Linked DNA regions of Homo sapiens: region 1 is linked to region 2. The links are contacts of gene promoters, found by promoter capture Hi-C in blood cells and fetal thymus (Javierre and others, 2016). All regions are on one chromosome and are shown on one strand. The core of a region is centred on a gene start or on the middle of the fragment in contact, and the rest is flanking DNA. Distances in the headings are between cores, read along the strand shown.

What was found. Contacts are between HindIII fragments. The CHiCAGO score rates a contact against its expected background, and 5 or more counts as called.
Region 1: a fragment that was not itself captured here is called in contact with the fragment with the promoter of UPK1A-AS1 in region 2 in 1 of 17 cell types (M2 macrophages); the score reaches 5.8 in M2 macrophages.

What each region holds. Positions count from the first base shown.
Region 1 is chr19:35,805,694-35,809,332 of GRCh38, reverse strand. PRODH2 (proline dehydrogenase 2) reads left to right here. Exons shown (of 10, transcript NM_021232.2): 5 at 2,212-2,292; 6 at 2,503-2,658; 7 at 2,737-2,903. Among named protein-coding and RNA genes, the nearest start is that of PRODH2, 5.3 kb to the left of the region's middle. RefSeq lists an enhancer at 1,900-2,400. The HindIII fragment of the contact is 1,192 bases long and covers 992-2,183 here.
Region 2 is chr19:35,670,871-35,674,582 of GRCh38, reverse strand. UPK1A-AS1 (UPK1A antisense RNA 1) reads left to right here and starts at 1,292. Exons shown (of 2, transcript NR_046420.1): 1 at 1,292-1,348. It overlaps UPK1A (uroplakin 1A), which reads right to left. Exons shown (of 8, transcript NM_007000.4): 4 at 1,277-1,351; 5 at 1,038-1,145. The HindIII fragment of the contact is 2,419 bases long and covers 30-2,448 here.

The sequences.
Region 1 (3,639 bases), core at 338-2,837, 130 kb before region 2:
CTTGAGCCCAGGAGGTCAATACCAACCTGAGTAATATAGTAAACCCTCATCTCTACAAAAAATTCCTTTAAATTAGCTGGGTGTGGTGGCAGGCACCTGTAATCCTGGCTACTTGGGAGGCTAAGGTGGGAGGATTGCTTGAGCTGGCAAGTTTGAGAGCGAAGAAAGAAAGAGAGGGAGGGAGGAAGGAAGGAAGGAAGGAAAGGAAGGAAGGAAGGAAGGAAGAAAGAAATAAAGAAAGAAAGAAAAAAGGGCCAGGTGCTGTAGCTCACACCTGTAATCCCAGCACTTTGGGAGGCTAAGTGGGGCTGGATCACTTGAGGTCAGGAGTTTGAGACCAGCCTGGGCAACATGGTGAAACCCCATCTCTACTAAAAATATAAAACTTATCCAGAAGTGGTGGCACGTGCCTGTAGCCCCAGTTAATCAGGAGGCTGAGGCAGGGGAATCACTTGAACTTGCACCACTGCACTCTTGCCTGGGAGACAGAGTGAGATCTATCTCAAAAAAAAAAAAAAAAGAAGGAAGGAAGGAAGGGAGGGAAGGAGGGAGGGAGGGAGAAAAGAGAGAAAGACCCAGGCTCTGGAAAGGCTGAGGTTTAAACCTCAGGTCTGCCCTGAGTTAGCTGTGTGACTTTTGACAAGTGACTTCCCTGCTCTGTGCCTCAGTTTCCCCATCTAGAAAATGGGGGGATAATAACAGTTGGTACATTAGAGAGTGGTAAATATTAAATGAGTTAAATATTTGGTGGGTGTCTGAAATAGCTCCCTGAGGGCCTAAGACTACGCCCCAAGTCAAGCAGGAGACAATCCTCTGACAGGGGAGGAGGAAACCAGGCTGCTGCCTCCAGGTCTTCCCTTCTCCAGGAGGCAGCATTCTCCCCACCATGCGGAAGGTTGCAGCTTCCAGCCCAACCTGCCTCCAGGTGGGATTCCATGAGCAAGCCCAGGCCTATGTCATCTGTATCGACCCTGTTGGATATAATAAAGCTTTCAGCCCCACCTGTTCCTCTTTCTTCCATTTCCCAACTTCTTTGAACCCAGCCAGACTCCCTGGAGTCACCAGCAGCTCACATTCAGCCAGATGAATCTGCATAAGACTGTGAGTTAGAAACGGTTCTTATTTCCATGTTACAAGCATATCCACTCCCGAAGTGTTTGCTGAACATCTATCTTGTTCCAGACACGGTGCTAGGGGCCGAGGAAGCATGAAGGCAAAATCCCTGACCTCGAGGCACTTACTTGCAAGTCAGGGGCAAGAGACAATAATTAAAACCAAAGTCAGAATCCCAGCACTTTGGAAGGCTGAGGTGGGAGGATCGCTTGAGTCCAGGAGACTGAGACCAGCCTGGGCAACATAGGAAGACCTTGACTCTACAAATAGTAAAGAATTAGCCCGGCATGGTGGTGGGTGCCTGTGGTACTAGGTACTTGGAAGGCTGAAGCAGGAGGATTGCTTGAGCTGGGGAGGTGGAGGCTGCAGTGAGCCATGATCGTGCCACTGCATTCCAGCCTGGGCAACACAGCAAGACCCCGTCTCAGCAAAACAAAAGTCAGTACGTAACAAGTAAGGGAAAATAAGGCTGAGGAAGAGGAAAAGAAGTTGCCAATGTATAGGTGGGAAAACCATGTTGAGAAAGTGACATTAGAGCAAATACTTGAAGGAAACATGGGAGCAGGTAAAGGGCTGGAGGTGGGAAGGTGCCCTCGTGTTCAAAGAGTAGCAGGGAGGGCTGAGCACGGTGGCTCACACCTGTAATCCCAGCACTTTGGGAGGCCGATGTGGGCAGATCACTTGAGGTCAGGAGTTCGAGACCAGCCTGGCCAACATGGTTAAACCCTGTCTCTACTAAAAGTACAAATATTAGCCGGGCATGGTGGCGGGCGCCTGTAATCCCAGCTACTCGGGAGGCTGAAGCAGGAGAATCACTTGAACCCAGGAGGCAGAGGTTGCAGTGAGCTGAGATCATGCCACTGCACTCCAGCCTGGGCAACAGAGCAAGACTCTGTTTCAAAAAACAAACAAACAAAAACTGAGGCCCAGAAAGGTTACATAACTTGCCCAAGGTCACACAGTAGGTGGTGAAGCCTGGATTCGAGCCCTGATTCTAGGCTCATAACCCCCTCAATAAATAGTACCTAACTGATATTGCTCATTTTTAGATTTCTAGCAACTTATAAGCTTTTCCCCACTTCCCCTGCTGCCCCCTAGAACCTCCAGGTCTCCTGCCTCAATGCTGAGCAGAACCAGCACCTCCGGGCCTCCCTCAGCCGCCTGCATCGGGTGGCACAGGTAACCCCTCCTGCTGGAACCAGCACCTCCGGGCCTCCCTCTGCCGCCTGCATTGGGTGGCACAGGTAACCCCTCCTGCTGGAACCAGCACCTCCGGGCCTCCCTCAGCCGCCTGCATCGGGTGGCACAGGTAACCCCTCCTGCTGGGATCTGGCTCCACTGCCCCTGCTGGACACCCGGGGCCCTGACCGTCGTCTCTGTCGCCATCAGTATGCCCGGGCCCAGCACGTGCGGCTCCTGGTGGATGCGGAGTACACCTCACTGAACCCTGCGCTCTCGCTGCTGGTGGCTGCCCTGGCTGTGCGCTGGAACAGCCCGGGTGAAGGCGGGCCCTGGGTGTGGAACACCTACCAGGCCTGTCTAAAGGTGTGCAGTGTGTTCCAGGAGGTACAGGCTGGGGTCCCCACACCCTGACCTACCAGAACCTGCCTGCGTGCCCTATAGGACACATTCGAGCGGCTGGGGAGGGATGCAGAGGCTGCGCACAGGGCCGGCCTGGCCTTCGGAGTGAAGCTGGTACGAGGTGCATATCTGGACAAGGAGAGAGCGGTGGCCCAGCTCCATGGGATGGAAGACCCCACTCAGCCTGACTATGAGGCCACCAGTCAGAGGTAGGCCCGGGCCAGCTGGCCTCTGCAGGAAATAATAACACCTAGTGGTTGGGTGCAGTGGCTCATACCTGTAATCCCAGTGCTTTGGGAGGCTGAGGCTAGAGATTCACTTGAGAGCAGGAGTTGGAGACCAGCCTGGGCAACACAGGGAGACCCCATCTCTAAAAAATTTTAAAAATAGTCAGGTGTGGTAGCACATGCCTGTGGTTCCAGCCACTTAGGAGGCTGAGGTGGGAGGATCACTTGAGGCCAGGAGTTCAAGGCTGCAGTGAGCCATGACTGCACCACTGCACTTCAGCCTGGGCAGCAGAGCGAGAATCTGTCTCAAAACAAACAAACAAACAAACAAACAAACAAAACAAAACAAAAAGAAATCCTTACAGTGGCCTCTAAGCCCCACATGCTCCCTGTCACTTCCCTAACTTTCCCTCCCTCTCTTCCTCTCCCTCACTCCACTACAGCCACACTGGCCTCCTCCATGTTACCCAGGGGCTTGGCACATCCTGTTTCCACTGCCTGGGACATTCCCACTGCAGACAGTGGCATGGCCCCATCCCTCACCTCCTTAGATCTTTACTTCTTGGTACCTTCTCTGGGGGCCACAGGGACTCAGCCAGGCTACAGAGCAGGTGGCCTAGCCACGCTTGGAATCCAGGCTCATGTCCAAGATCTGCAGGGGCTCCAGGGCACGTTTGTGTACCATCAGCTTAACTGGCACCAAGCCAGGCACAGTGGT
Region 2 (3,712 bases), core at 43-2,542:
ATGGAGTGGTCGTGAGGATTAAAAAAGCTTTAAAAGTGCTTTGAAAGGCTGGGCACGGTGGCTCAAGCCTGTAATCCCAGCACTTTGGGAGGCCGAGGCAGGTGGATCACAAGGTCAGGAGATCAAGACCATCCTGGCTAACACCCATCTCTACTAAAAATACAAAAAATCAGCTGGGCGCGGTGGCAGGCGCCTGTAGTCCCAGCTATTCGGGAGGCTGAGGCAGGAGAATAGCGTGAACCCGGGAGGCGGAGCTTGCAGTGAGCCGAGATCGCGCCACTGCATTCCAGCCTGGGCGACAGAGCAAGACTCTGTCTCAAAAAAAAAAAAAAAAAAAAAAAGATAAAAAGAAAAAAAAAAATGTGCTTTGAGGCCAGGCACTCGTGGCTCATGCCTGTGATCTCGGCACTTTGAGAGGCGGAGGTGGGAGAATCGCTCCAATCCTGAGCCCAGGAGTTCCAGACCAGCCTGGGCAATAGAGCAAGACCCCCATCTCCACAAAAGATAATTTAAAAAACTTAGCCGGGTGTGGTGGGGCGCACCTGTATTCCCAGCTACTCGGGAAGCTGAGGCGGGAGGATCACTTGAGCCCAGGAGTTGGAGGTTGCAGTGAGCTATGATCACTCCAGCCTGGGCAACAGAGCAAGACCCCATCTCAAAATATAAAAATAAAAGTCCTTTGAACAGTGTGAAACCTAGCTCAGTGAATGGTGCTGTTACTATCATTGTTATTATCAACATTTCTGTTGAGGTAGTATGTGTAGGCTAAGAGCAGGGAGGTCAGGAGCTAGGCTGCCGGGTTCCAATCCCAGCTCCCACCACTTACCGACTGTGTGGCCTCGGGCAAGGGACTTTCCCTTTCTGGGCCTGTTTACTCATCCGCAGAACGGTGATGACCGCAGCCCTGCTCTCCTAGAGATCTCATGAGCGGATGTCTTTAAGGCACTCACTCCTCTAAAAGCTGGCACATCGGGAGCTCTATCGGCCTCTGTGGACGGAGCCCAGGGCCCTCCCAGCACCCGGTCCACCCCGCCCACCTCAATCATGACGCGGTCCCAGAGGCGGGTCAGCTCCTGGCCCTGGTCGGTGTCCGCGCTGTAGAAGGTCAGCATCTGCTTGGTGATCAGGGATGGGTTGGACACCATCTGAGGAGAACAGGGAAGAACAAGGGCCGGCAGGGCTGGGTGGGGAGAGAGGACGACCTCCGCCCCGCCGCGCCGGGACCCTCGCCCCTCCCATGCAGGTCAGGCCCCTCCCCAGGCCTCGCCGGGCTCACGTAGTCACGGTGGGTGTAGGACGTGATGCAGGAGGCGCACTCGAAGATGTAGACGATGAGCATGAGCACCAGGTACTGGGGAGACAGAGGGAGGACGGCCCGTCGGGCAGAGCCCGTGAAGCCACACCCCGTCAGGGAAGCATCACTGGGGAAATGCAAGTTTTAAAAAAGTTTGGGGCAGTGTGACTAGCAGCATCTATAATATGTGGTGGGTGTTCAGGTGTTCGCTGTATTGTCTTCCAACTTTTCTGTATTTTGAAATATTTAATTTAATTAATTTATTTTTGAGACAGGCGAGGCGTGGTGGCTCACGCCTATAATCCCAGCACTTTGGGAGGCCGAGGGGGCGATCACCTGAGTCAGGAGTTCGAGACCAGCCTGGCCAACATGGTGAAACCCCTTCTCTACTAAAAATACAAAAATTAGGGCTGGGCATTGGTGGCTCACACCTGTAATCCCAGCACTTTGGGAGGCTGAGATGGGAAGATTGCTTGAACCCTGGAGTTCAAGATCAGCCTGGGCAACACAGTGAGACCCCGTCGCTACAAAAAATAAAAATAAAAAAATTAGTTAAGCATAGTTACTACTAGTGGTAGTGTTAGTCCTAGCTATTTGGGAGGCTGAGGTTGGAGGATCGTTTGAGCCCAGTAGTTGGAGGCCTCAGCGAGCTATGATCGCACCACTGCATTCCTGCCTGGGCAACAGAGCAAAACCCTGTCTCTTAAAACAAAACAAACAAGGGTGGGTGCAGTGGCTTACGCCTGTAATCCCAACACTTTGGGAGGTTGAGACGGGTGGATCACCTGAGGTCAGGAGTTCAAGACCAGCCTGACCAATATGGTGAAACCCCATCTACTAAAAATGCAAAAATACAAAAATTAGCTGGGCATGGTGATGGGTGCCTGTAATCCCAGCTACTCAGGAGGATGAGATAGGAGAATAGCTTGAACCCAGGAGGCAGAGGTTGCAATGAGCCGAGATTGTGCCATTACACTCCAGCCTGGGCAACAGAGTGAGACCCTGTCTCTTAAAATAAAACAAACAACATAAAACGATGTTCTCAGATAATCAGAGACATTTGACACAGACTGGGTATTGGAAGATATAGAAGAACTTGATTGAATTTGGTGGGTTGTGCCAACGGCACAGAGGGCAGGAGAAAAAAAAAAGCTTGTCAGTTGATGTTTAATGCAAATTCTTTTCATGTCCTCACCTGGCACCTTCATCTATAAAGCAGCAGGAGGTTGCGTGTGGATGTGTGAACTCTGCTGCTGGGAGATGGATGACATTGCACAACCTCCTGACTGCTTTAAAACAATGTGCTTATCACTCAGAGAAATGTGTGCTCCAGTATTTACAGGCAAGTGACTTGGCATCTAGAATGTGCTTCAAAATACCCAGAAGAAAAAGTATGAGAGAAGGGGGATAGAGGAGACAATGTCGGGCAGTCTGCAGCTGATGTTGTTGAAATCAGGTGAGAGGTATGCAGGGCTCAAATACTGCGGACTCTAGTCTACTTTAGAAATTTCCTGTAAGAAATTTGGGGGCCGGGCACGGTGGCTCATGCCTGTAATCTCAGCACTTTGGGAAGCCGAGGTGGGCGGATCACGAGGTCAGGAGATCGAGACCATCCTGGCTAACACGGCGAAACCCCATCTCTACTAAAAATACAAAAAAAAAAATTAACCAGGCGTGGTGGCAGGTGCCTGTAGTCCCAGCTACTCGGGAGGCTGAGGCAGGAGAATGGCGTGAACCCGGGAGGCGGAGCTTGCAGTGAGCCGAGATCGCACCACTGCACTCCAGCCTGGGCAACTGAGCAAGACTCCGTCTCAAAAAAAAAAAAAAAAAGAAATTTGGGGAGAAAATGTCTTAGTTAATGACAAACTAATGGGGAAACAGACACAATTTTTTTTTTTTTTTGAGACAGAGTCTTGCTCTGTCGCCCAGGCTGGAGTGCAGTGGCGCGATCTCTGCTCACTGCAAGCTGCGCCTCCCGGGTTCACGCCATTCTCCTGCCTCAGCCTCCCGAGTAGCTGGGACTACAGGCGCCCGCCACCACGCCTGGTTAATTTTTTGTTTTTTAGTAAAGACGGGATTTCACCGTGTTAGCCAGGAAGGTCTCGATCTCCTGACCTTGTGATCCACCTGCCTCGGCCTCCCAAACTGCTGGGATTACAGGCGTGAGCCACCGAGCCCGGCCCAGACACAATTTTTAAAACTAGTTGGGTGACTTTTTAGGGCTTTGGTTAAATTGTTATGCCAGATAATTAAATACAGGATAAGAAAATAAGAGGGCAGGTGTGGTGGCTCATGCCTGTAATTCCAACACTTTGGGAGGCTGAGGTGGGAGGCTCACTTGAGGCCAGGAGTTGGAGACCAGCCTGGGCACCATAGTGAGACTCCATCTCTACAAAAAATACAAAAATTAGCTGCACA